Regions from separate parts of the Homo sapiens genome. Here region 1 is linked to region 2. Evidence: promoter capture Hi-C in human tissues and cell types (Jung and others, 2019). All regions are on one chromosome and are shown on one strand. Each heading gives the region's core, a stretch centred on a gene start or on the middle of the fragment in contact. The rest is flanking DNA. Distances are from core to core; before and after follow the strand shown. Region 1 holds the start of IGFL4 (IGF like family member 4). Region 2 holds the start of NOVA2 (NOVA alternative splicing regulator 2).

The links. Contacts are between HindIII fragments. The study calls those that stand out against the background at their distance.
Region 1: a fragment that was not itself captured here is called in contact with the fragment with the promoter of NOVA2 in region 2 in 2 of the 25 tissues and cell types used here (hippocampus and mesenchymal stem cells).

What each region holds. Positions count from the first base shown.
Region 1 is chr19:46,040,631-46,046,744 of GRCh38, reverse strand. It overlaps IGFL4 (IGF like family member 4), which reads left to right and starts at 5,743. Exons shown (of 4, transcript NM_001002923.3): 1 at 5,743-5,801. The coding sequence starts at 5,783. The HindIII fragment of the contact is 4,011 bases long and covers 1,783-5,793 here.
Region 2 is chr19:45,971,089-45,976,899 of GRCh38, reverse strand. It overlaps NOVA2 (NOVA alternative splicing regulator 2), which reads left to right and starts at 3,035. Exons shown (of 4, transcript NM_002516.4): 1 at 3,035-3,633. The coding sequence starts at 3,549. RefSeq lists a silencer at 2,710-2,869. The HindIII fragment of the contact is 35,305 bases long and covers 1-5,811 here.

The sequences.
Region 1 (6,114 bases), core at 2,539-5,038, 69 kb before region 2:
GTTCTCCTGTATTGGATGCATATATATTTAGGATACTTAGCTCTTCTTGTCCAATTGATCCCTTTACCATTATGTAACACCCTTCTTTGTCTTTCTGGATTTTTGTTGGTTTAAAGTCTGTTTGGTCAGAAACTAGGGTTGCAACCCATGCTTTTTTCTGTTTTCCATTTCCTTGATAAATTTCTCCTCCATCCCTTTATTTTGAGCCTATGTGTGTCCCACATGTGAGATGGGTCTCTCGAAGACAGTATATCAATGGGTCTTGGCTCTTTATCCAACTTGCCATTCTGTGTCTTTTAATTCAGGAATTTAGCCCACTTACATTTAAGGTTAGTATTGTTATGTGTGAATTTGTTCCTGTCATCATGATGCTAGCTGGTTATTTTACAGACTTGTTTTGTTGGTTGCTTCATAGTGTTACTTGTCTGTGTATTTCAGTGTGTTTTTGTAGTGGCTGGTAAAGGTTTTCCCTTTCCATATTTATTGCTTCCTTCAGGAGCTCTTGCAAGGCAGGCTTGGTGGTGACGAATTCCCACAGCATTTGCTTGTCTGAAAAGGACCTTATTTCTCCACTTATGAAGCTTAGTTTGGCTGGATATGAAATCCTGGGTTGGAAATTCTTTTAAGAATGTTGAATATTGGCCCCCAATCTCTTCTGGCTTGTAGGATTTCCACTGAGAGGTCCGCTGGTAGTCTGATGGGCTTTTCTTTGTAGGTTACCTGGCCTTTCTCTCTGGCTGCCCTTAACATTTTTTCTTTCATTTCGACAATGAAGAATCTGCTGATTATATGTCTTGGGGTAAATCTTCTTATGGAGTATCTCACTGGGGTTCTCTGTATTTACTGAATTTGAATGTTGGCCTGTCTTGCAAGTTTGGGGAAGTTCTCCTGGATGATATCCTGGAGTATGTTTTCCAACTTGGTTCCAATTTCCCTGTCTCTTTCAGGTACCCCAATCAGTCATAGATTCTGTCTCTTTACATATTTCTCAGAGGTTTTGTTCAGTTCTTTTTGTTCTTTTTTCTCTATTCTTGTCTGCCTGTATAATTTCAGAAGGACGGTCTTTAAGCTCTGAAATTCTTTCCTCTGCTTGAACTATTCTGTAACTGATACTTATGATTGCATTGTGAAGTTCTTGTGTTTTCCAGTTCCATTGGGTCAGTTATGTTCCTCTCTAAACTGGCTATTCTGTCAGCTCCTGTATAATTTATCATGATTCTTAGCTTATTTGCAATGGGATACAACATCCTCCTTTAGCTCAGTGAAGTTCATTATTACCCATCTTTTTCTTTTTTTTTTTTGAGACAGAGTTTCACTCTTGTCACCCAGGCTGGAGTGCAGTGGCGCGATCTCAGCTCACTGTAACCTCTGCCTCCCGGGTTCAAGCGATTCTCCTGCCTCAGCCTCCTCAGCATCTGGGATTATAGGCATGTGCCACCATGCCCAGCTAACTTTTGTATTTTTAGTAGAGAGGGGGTTTCACCATGTTGGTCAGGCTGGTCTCTAACTCCTGACCTCGTGATCCACCTGCCTCGGCCTCCCAAAGTGCTGGGATTAAAGGTGTGAGCCACTGCGCCTGGCCTATTACCCACCTTCTTAAAACTACTTCTGTTAATTCAGCCATCTCGGTCTCAGCCCAGTTCTGTGCCCTTGCTGGAGAGGTACTGTGGTCATTTGGAAGAGAAGAAGCACTCTGGCTTTTTGAGTTTTCAGCATTTTTGCATTGATTCTTTCTCATCTGTGTGGGTTTACCTTTGATTTTTGAAGTTGCTGACCTTTGAATGAGGTTTCTGTGGGGTCTTTTTTGCTGATGTTGTTGGTGTTTTCTGTTTGTTTTTCTTTTAACAGTCAGGCCACTATTCCACAGGGCTGCTGTGGTGTGCTGGGGGTTTGTTCAAGACCCTGGTTGCCTCCGTTTTTCCCGTACCTGAAGGTGTCACCAGTGAAGGCTGCAAAACAGCAAAGATGGCAGCCTGCTCCTTCCTCTGACCAGTTGTTGACCCAAACGTCCCTGTAGGAGGTGGCTGGAGACCCTTGTTAGGAGGTCTCACCCAGTCAGGAGGAATGGGGTCAGGGAACCACTTAAAGAAGCAGTCTAGCTACAATCTGGCAAGGCAGATGTGCTGTGTTGTGGGGAACCCTTCCTCATCTGGACCATTTGTATTCTCCAAAGCTGGCAGGCTAGAATGGCTGAGTCTACTGAACCACAGAGATGGTGACTGCCCCCACGACACCCCCACCCCAGGAACTTGGTCCTGACCCAGGCAGACTCCGGCCTGTTGCTGTTGGCTGGCTGGAATTCCAAGCCACTGGGTCTTAACTTGTGAGGTGCTGTGGAAGTGGGGTCCACAGAATGACACTGCTTGGTTCTCTGGATTCAGCCCCCTTCATAGAAATATGTATGGAGGGATGTCCTCCCTTGCTGCAGATCCCAGGGCCAGAGTACGTAAAACTCCTGGGTCTCTGTGAGTGCCCCTGTGGCCGCTCTGCCAAGACTCCACACAGCTCTGTGTATTGGACCCAAATCTCTGGGCGTGGGCTTATGTGGGGATCTCTTGATCCTAAGGTTGCAAATATCCATGGGAGAAGCATGGTTTCCCAGGCAGGGTTGCACAATCACTCACTGCTTCACTTGGCTGGGGGCAGGAGTCCCCATACCTCCACACTGCTCCTGGGTGGACCATCACCCTACCCTGCATTTCTTCGTTCTCCATGGGTTGAGAGTGACAACCTGTATATTTCAGTTGAAGATGCTGAATTCACTCACTCCTTTCATTCCTCTCTGTGAGTGCGGTGGACCACAGCTGCTTCTAGTCAGCCATCTTGCCCGCTTCCTGATCTATCCATTTTTTAAATGGACAATGTTTTTTGTATCTTTTCCCTAAGTCATAAGGATTTTTTTTATGTTTTCTTCTAGAAAATGTATAGTTTAACTTTTTATATCTAGATCATTTTGGAGTTAAATTTTGTAGGAAGTGTAAGCTTTGGTAGAAGATTTTTTTTTTCATATGCATGCCCATTGTCCCACACCATTTGTTGAAATGACTATCTTTTCCCACATTGAATTGCTTTTGCATCTTTGTCAAAAGTCAATTTGCCATGTTTGTTTGGGTTTATTTCTGAAATCTGTTCTGCTCCATTGATCTATGTATCTCTCCACTTGCCAATACTATACTGTCTTCATTAGTGTAGCTGGAGTAATTGTGAAATTGGGTAGTGTGAGTCCTCCAACATTTTTCATCAACCAAAATTGTTTGGGCCATTCTTGTTTCCACTGCCTTTCCAGATAAATTCTAGAATTATTTTGCTTCTATCTGAGACAAATCCTGCTTGGGTTTTCATTGGAATTGTGTTAAATCTGTAGACAATTTGGAGAGAATTGACATCTTAGCTAAAAAGCCCCATATTCTAAACTATGACATGATATACCACTCTATATTTAGGTTTTCCTTGATTACTTTAATCACTAGTTTATAGTTTTAAGCATATATATCCTCTACATGTTCTCCTAGATTTACAGTATACCTAAGTATTCAATTTCAGTAGGGGGGCATTATAAATGGCATTGTTCCCCTCTAAATTTTTGTTTCCACTTATTCCAGGAGCGAGAAATACAATTGATTTTTGTGTGTTGACTTTGTATTCTACAACCATCTAAATTTACTTATTAGTTCCCGGAGCTTTGGGGGTAGGTTTACGGTAATGGCTCTGCCCTACTGCCCCGGCGACCTCAAACATCTCCACGTGGGCCACGTTGGTGAAATTAACTGTAGCTGATGTATGTCATGGCAGAACACTCTCTGGTCTTCCCAGAACGTGAGGTCATGGGAGGCTTGTGGGAAGCTGCTACAGCATCACTTGTCACTCACTTCCCTATGGATAAGGGAGGCCGCCATGACACAGCTTCTCACTGCCTCTGGCTTCTAGGGAGGGATGAGGCTTTCTACCTCCCTATACCATGGAGCCACAGGCTGGATTCTCTACTCAGCAACAGGCATCCTATTATTCTTGTTCAGTCATCTGGCCCTTTTGTTTCAGTGTCACCCTGTATAAGGGACATGGTGCTGGCACCTGTGGCTCTTTCTTTCCCTGTCTGTGTAAGTAATAAAGTGTCTGAATCTAAAAAGAGCTTGTTTTTGTCACTAACAGAATCTGTCAGACTCACCTCTTGCTTGACAGTGGGTTCCGTGGGATTTTCTACATAGATAGTTCAATTATACAGAGATCAATTCTAGTAATCAGCTTTGGGATTTCCCTCCTTAGTCACTTGTACTCTTCATTGCAGCTTTCCCTTTCAAGTGGTCATAAATTTCTTGGTTGCTGGCTCGGAGTTATAATGCGGTATTCACACTACTTAACTTGATAAACAGGAATGTAGTTCTTATAGGTCTGTTTCCGCAGCAGCTGTTCTGTGTAGGTGAGAGAATGTGTCTTTACAGGTGGGATTTCTGTTTGGATGTGTGGGAAAGGAGAAGGCATATTGATAAGCAGACAAACAGACATATCTATGCAAATACGCAACTGCAGAAATAGGCGAGGAGAGCTAGTTTATTGCATGAAATCAATACCGAAGACTTGGACATCCAGTCAAGAAAGGAGAGGCCAGGCTGGAGTGCAAATAAGCACAACAACAACAAAATCAATGCACTTTGGGAGGCTGGGGCAGGTGGATTGCTTGAGCTCAGGATTCCAAGACCAGAACATTGTAGGACCCTAACTCTATGAAAAATACAAAAAAATTAGCCAGGCCAGGAGGTGCCTGCCTGTAGTCCCAGCTACTCAAGAGGCTGAGGTGGGAGGATGGCTTCAACTTGGGGGGCAAAGGTTACAGTGAGCAAAGATAGCACCACTGCCCTCCAGCCTGGGAGACAGAGAGATACGGTGTCTCAAAAAAAAAAAAAAAAAAAGAGAGAGAGGAGGGAGGAGGAAGAGACTCTAGAGAGTCTATACTAACAATGCACTTTTACAAAGCTCTAATACCTGTGCCTTATCCTTCTTTCACCCTCCCACCCTTCTCACTGTGACACAGGGAAGAAACCAGTGGAAAATGGAGGGGCATGCTCTAAAAATACGCCACATGTAATCCCATCACACAGTGAGACACACAGGAGCATTTTCTTGGACAAGGCACTCCACAAACCAAAAAAAAAAAAAAGGTGCTGCTTTCCTATCTGGAATCCCAGAGATCCATCCTACCACCGCCTATTTTTGTTGTTGTTGTTCTCCCTGGCACAGTTTTGCAGCCCCTGCTGTTCTTCTAGATTATGCTGCAACTTCACAAATTCTCCTACGTGACTCTGAAAAATTATAGACAGTGCAGGTCTGCAGGTGAACTGAGACGGGGAGTAGAGGGACTCCTTGAAACTTCAGGGTGGAGGAATATGGGGAGCCTAGAGACAGCCGGTGTTTGGTGAGTAATTTGATCTTAGATAAGCAAGAGTTAAGGAATATCTTCCAAGTGGTTTTCCCTTGGGCGGTGTTCAAAGAAAGACACTCAGCAGAGTCAAAGCTTAGATAGGTTCCTGGGTAGCCTTTACCCTGAGGATCTGAAGGGTCTGAGGAGGCAGCAACCACTTGGAACAGGTCCAGAAGCATCTCATTAAGCTTTTGATGAATTATTTATGTTCCCTGCAGCTCTTTTTGCCTAACTCTTCCCAAGAAACCACTCCTTCTGCACACCTCCCTAAATGGCGGTAAGTTCATATCCTATATAAGCCCCTATGTAAAGTCACTGACCCATTTCCACTGCTGCTCCCTCGTCCGCTGCTCTGAAGCCTAACCCATGGTGCCCAGAATTTCTGGTAAGGAGACCCCAGCCCTAGGCTAAGCTAATCCCTAATGATATCACATCCCTAATTATTTCTGAACTTCAAAGTTAATTCTCTCTTCCCTATTTAATTATTGGTGTCCCACCTCATAATCACTGCTATGTCATCTGTGACTGCATTGTAATCTGTCTCCTGAACTGCAAATTCCAGAAGCTTAACTTTTCCCAGAGCCCTCCCTGCCTTTCCTCACCTGCCAAGCCCAGTCCCCAGGACCTGCACCCACAGCCAGTCCCAAAATCCACTCTGAGCTGTTAACAGCAACCAGAGAAGCTCAGAGACATCATCC
Region 2 (5,811 bases), core at 1,786-4,285:
AACGTGGTGAAACCTTGTCTCTACTAAAAATACCAAAAAATTAAAAAATAAAAAATAAAATAAAAATAAAGGGGGTATTAACAGCAGCAGCAACATTTTCCAAATTAAAGAATGAGAGACTCAGAAAGGGTAAGGGCATGCCCAAGTCACACAGCATGTAAATGGCAGGGCCAGAACTCAAACCCAGGCTTCTGTAAGCTGACCTTCACTCCAACGAGCCCCTCCATATAGCTCTGCCAGGTTGGAAGGAAAAGGCAGGTTCGGGGATCCCCTGCCCCAGCTTGGTGGGGGTCTCTGATGTCCCTGACTCTGGCCCCTGCCCAGACTAGGGTGACTGCTCCCCTGAAAGCTCTGGGGTGGGGGCACAAGGGTGGCATGGATGATGGCAAAGGGTGCAGCAGCCCCCTCCGCCAGCCTCTGATTGGGGCCCTGCAGTCCCCCAGGATTTGGTGCTTGGAAAGCTGACGTTGGGTTGCTATGGTGATGGGTTTGGGGCGGTTGCCATGGCAGCAGAACTAGCCCGGGTTTAAAAATATCTAGCAGGAGGTTTGTGTTTGTGTGTGAGTGTGAGTGCGTGACCGACCGTGCTGTTGTGTGTGTCCAAACGGGAGGGCTCGATGGGGGGAGCGCAGGGTTGGGGCTGCAGGCATGCCTCGGGGGTGGGGGCTGAGCGGCACACAGCTTTCCATGTGTGTTGTGCGTGTCACTGAGTGGCCCGTGAAGTCCAGTTATTGTGTGCGTTAGCCTATGTGGGCCGTGTATCTAAATGTGTGTGTTGTGTGTGTTTACCCAATTTGTGTGCAAGGAAAGACTTAGTCTGTTCGTCAGTCTATACATCACATGTCGCTGATATGTCTTATGTAACATAGGCCATGGATGTCCTGTGGCTTTGATCATGGATTTGTAACTTTTCCGAGTGTGTGGGGCCAAGTGTGGAGCTGTCGTGGCTCTGAATGTGTGTACCTGGGACATACCTGCATATTAGATGTGTGTCTGTCTATTTGTGTATGAGAGCCTGTGTTGTGGCCTTGCGTCTGCATGACTGAATGTGCATTACAGATGAGTGTGTATGTGTGTGTACGTGTGCCTATCCCCTATAAGTGTGTCTGTGTGACTGTGTTGAGACCGTGCACCTGCAGCAGGGCCAGTGTGACTCTGTGTGTGTCACACAGAGGGGGAAACTTCACAGCTAATTTCATGGATGTTGGGATATGTACCTGTGTGGTGTGAGGCTATTTGACTCAAAGGGTCTAAGGTGTGGTACTCAGCCTGACCCCCGTATCTCCCTATATCCGTCTTGCCTCTTCCCCATCTCCATGGCAACCAGCTCCTCAGCTCCCTCCAGGAAGATGGAGGGGGAGGATCCAGACTGCAGTGGACCACAGCCCCCTCCCATCCCCCTTGGCTCTGGGGACAATGGGGGGGAGGGGACAGATGGGTAGCCACCCCATCCACCCCAGGCCATCTGCTACCCTCCCCCATCCTGGGGACCTGAGAGCATGGCAAGGGAGGAGCAGGGGGGGGTTGGAGCCGATCCCCCTGCCGCAGATCACGCAGTGGCCACAATTACCTGCATCCAGACCCCTTCTGAGCCTAATCTTGCCTCTGACCAACCCAGGAAGGAAAGATTCCTTGGAGGTTAAGAACCCAGGGAGAAGGAAATTCTTGCATCAAGGAACACAGAATAATAGCAATGATCCATTCCAAAGAAAGGCACCCTAGTTCCAATGACTTTGGGCTCTGAAATTGGACTTGTCCTGCGTTCTCATCCCAGTTTCTCTCTCTCAAGCTGTGTGCCCTTGAAGAAGCCACCCTCAATGTTCCCAGGCCTCCACTTTGTCATCTGAAAACAAATTTTTCTTAATGACATGAGTAGTAATACTGTACAAGGGCCAAGGCTGTTTTGTTCTCTATTGTATCGCAGCATCAGGGACAGTGCCTGGCACTTAGTAGGTAGGCCCTGAGTGCTGTTGTTTGAATGGAGAGCCAGTTGTGCCCCAGGGCAGGTGCTGCAGGCTGCAACTCCAGCTCAGTGAATTCAATCCTCTGAGCCCTTTCAGCATCACGGTGTTGATTCTTCAAAGGATGGATGAAAGATTTGAAGGGGAATTTCCCAGCTGAAAGGATTGAAAAAGAGTGAAGTGAAATTTCTTTCTCTTTCTTTCTTTCTTTTTTTTTTTTTTTTTTGAGACAAGGTTTTGCTCTGTCTCCCAGGCTCGAATCTAGTTGCTTGATCATGGCTGACTGCAGCCTCAAACTCCTGTGCTCAAGAGATCCTCCCACCTCAGACTCCAGAGTACCTGGGGCTACAAGCATGTGCTACCACGCCTGGCTAATTAAAAAAAAAATTTTTTTTTTGTAGAGATGGGGTCTCACAATATTGTTGCCCAGCTCGTCTCAAACTCCTGGGCTCAAGTGATTCTTCCGCCTCGGCCTCCCAAAGTGCTGGGATGACAGGCATGAACCACCGCGCCTAGTCGAAATTTCTTGTCTTGACCAAGTGAAGTCAAAGTAAGCTCCTAAGGCTGTTTCCTCATCTGTAAAATAGGGATAATAAGCGTAACTCACAGAGCTGGTCGCTCTGGGGAGTAAATGCGATAACGTCTGTGACGTGCTTGCTTGGAACCGGACCTGGCACACAGTAAGTGCTCAATAAACGTTCATTCAAGGTGAGGAGTGGGGACGGCTTGGAGGAGCCCGGGGTCCTCCCAGCAGCCTGGGGGAGTCGGGTCCAGCTCTCTGCCGCCGGGAGGGGCGTGGCCAACCCAGAGGGACGTGGTCCAGGCTTCAAGGCTGGACCAATGGGGGCGCCGAAGGGCGTGGCCCTACCCGGCATGGGCGTGACCTCGTTGGGTGGGAGGGGCCAGGCGCTGTGGGAGCCTCCGGGAAGAAGATGCTCGGGCCAGCAGCCACCGCCAGCCCCGTCGCCGCCGCCGCCCGCGCCCGCCGCCCCCCGGGCCCCCACTAGCGGCCGCCTCCGCCTCCCACTCCGGCCACGCTCCTCCGGCCCCCCACCCCGAGCAGGGTCTGGGGGGCTCGGCCCTCTTGCCCCAGGGAGCCAAGAAGAAGCGGGGAGTCCCGTCCCCCCAGTGGCGCGTCCAGTCCCCAGCCTCTGTGGTCCCAGGAGAGACCCCACCTCTCAGTTCTTTCCCGGCCCTATCGGAGACCCCCCTCGGCCCTGCCATCCTGCTCACGGCCGCTCTCCAGGCTCTGTCAGCCCCCCGAGAACCGGCTCCCCCCTACCCCCGCCTTCCCTCTCCGGGGCTCCCCCTCCCCCATCCCTCCACCGCCCCCTCCCCCTCCCACCTCCCCTCCCCTCCCCCTCCCCCGCCCCCCGCCCCCCGCCCCCCCCCACCATGAGGATGATGGCCGCCGGCGCGGTGCACGGCCTCTTCACGGCCTCCGCGGCCCCGCAGCCGCCGCCGCCCCCGCCGCCGCCGCCGCCGCAACCCCAGCCTCCCCAGCAGCCGTCGCCGCCGCCACAGCAGCCGCCGCCGCCGCCGCCGCAGCCGCCGCAGCAGCAGCAGCCGCCGCCCCAGGCCCCCCCCATGGAGCCCGAGGCCCCGGATTCCCGCAAGAGGCCCCTCGAAACGCCCCCCGAGGTGGTCTGCACCAAGCGCAGCAACACGGGAGGTGAGAAAGGGCTGCGGCTCGGGGCGGGGGAGCGGGCAGGGGGCCTCGCCTTTCTCCATCCTTTCCCCCCCTCCCGTGGCAGGTGCAAGGGCTCTGGGGAGGGGAGAGACACCCCTCCCCGAGGCGGGGGACAGAGCGGGGAGTTGAGGAGGGGGCTGGACCCCCTCCTCCTCTCGCTGAGGCCCGGGGCTGGGAGCTTTGTCTGCGAGGAGAGGGGTGGGGGGGAGGGGGTGATAAGTGTCCTTGGGGGGCGCAGAAGATGGGGGGCGTGGGAGCCTCAGGGCAGGTGTCTGTGTGTCCTTGAGGGGTGTGTGATGTGACCCTTTCGGAGCAGGGGTGTTCCCCGAGCTCGCGTGTCCTGGCTGGGGGAGGGGAAGGAGTAGAGGCCTGTGGACCGGGAGCTTCCCAGCCTCCCTCCCTGGGGATGTCCTGAACAAGGGTTGTCCCAGATGGAGGCTTGTGTGGCCCTGGCCGGATCGTGCGTGGGGACAGGCTGGGTAGGTGTGTGGGGTGAAATGGAGGAAATGGTGGGTGTGTAAAGCTAGGTGGGAGAATGTGAGGCTAGGACAGGTGTGTATGTGTGTGCGTGTGTGTGTATGTGTGCCCTCTACAGCCTGGATGTGTGACATTAGGGATCAGGAATATGACAGCATAGGGGGGTGTATGAGAAAGACAGGGGACAGGGGCTGGGCTCCATGTTTGAGACCCTCCAGCGGGTACGTGTGACAAGGAAAGGTGTGTGCTTGTCACCCCCAAGGGGGCTGTGGCAGAGTGTGACACATGAGAGGGTGTGTGTGACATGCAAGGAGGTGTGTGGGGGACACCGAATGGGCTGGCTCTGGGTGTCAGCCAGAAGAGGCCGTGTAGATCAGAGGAAAGGGGTCCAGTGTGTGTGACACAGGCGTGGCTGGTGAGGGGATGTGACAAGAAAAGGGTGTGGGTGTGACTCCAGAGAGGCTGTGGCTGGGTGTGACACATGGAGGTGTGCAACAGTGACATCAGAGGGGGTGTGTGCAACAGGGAAGGTGGGTGTATGACGAGGGAGAGGCTGGGGCTTGTGGGTGAAACGCACGAGGGTGTGTAAAAAGGAGAAGGAAGGATGGGTCCCCATGTGACAGGGCACGTGTGCATATGACACCCAGCTGTGTGTATGGGTGTAACAAGGAGAGGTGTGTGTGTGAAATGGCTGAGTGTGTGACACCAGAGATATGGGGATGATTCTGCATGTGTTTGACAAGGGAGGCTGTGTGTGTGTCCGTGTGTATTGGAGATTGCCGAATGTTTGACACCACGGAAGGCAGTGTGAGGGAAGAGAGGGGCTCTCCCTGGGTGTGTGACCCAAGGAGGTGTGTGTACCAGAGAAGAAAAGCCGAGCTGGGAACTCTAGGTGCATGCCCTGCCGTGGGGGGCTCAGGGAAGAGGTGGGGTTTTTTGGGGTCCTCAGAGCCCTGTCCTCTAGCTCCCTGGTAGGAGGGAGACCCCGCAGCGGACAAGCCCCTCCCCGCGGTCACCTTGCCAAAATCTCCACTTCCTCTGGCCTTTTCCTCCGGATGGGAGAGGGATGGCTTCAGGCAGAGTGCACCCTTTCCTCTCCGCCAGGCCTGGCAGTGGGTGGGGTGGGGGCCTCCTACCTCCTCCCTACAGATGAATACAAGCCGACTTTCTTCCTCCCATCCTAGCCCTCCCCCACCTCCATCCAGGTGGGACAGGAATCAGGGACCCCCTGGATGCCTGTGAGGGTGTCCAGCAGAAATTGGAGGAAAGGGAAGTTGGGGGAGGGGATGGGAGGGAGTTTCCTGTCCTTCTTCCTGCTCCCCCACCCCCAGCACACACATGAATATGTCCCCGACTTCCTTCCCTCCTTCCTGCCCCACTGCTGTTCCCAGTCCTGGAGAGGTCAGGGACCCAGGAGGTCCCTGAGCCCAGCCAGACTGTCTAGCCCTCCACCACCGTCCTCCAGAGGGTAGGGGGTTCCCACCTTTCTCTACAGGGACTGAGATGCTTAGAATCTGATCACTTCTCAGCACAACTTAACACTGATGCCACTGCTGCTAATAACAGTCACATCTGCCTACTTGGCACCTACTACTCTGAGACATGGGTTAATATCTCAGTACAACCCCTGGGAGACATGATTTGAGCATCTTTACAGATGAGGAAAACTGAGGCTCAGCAAAA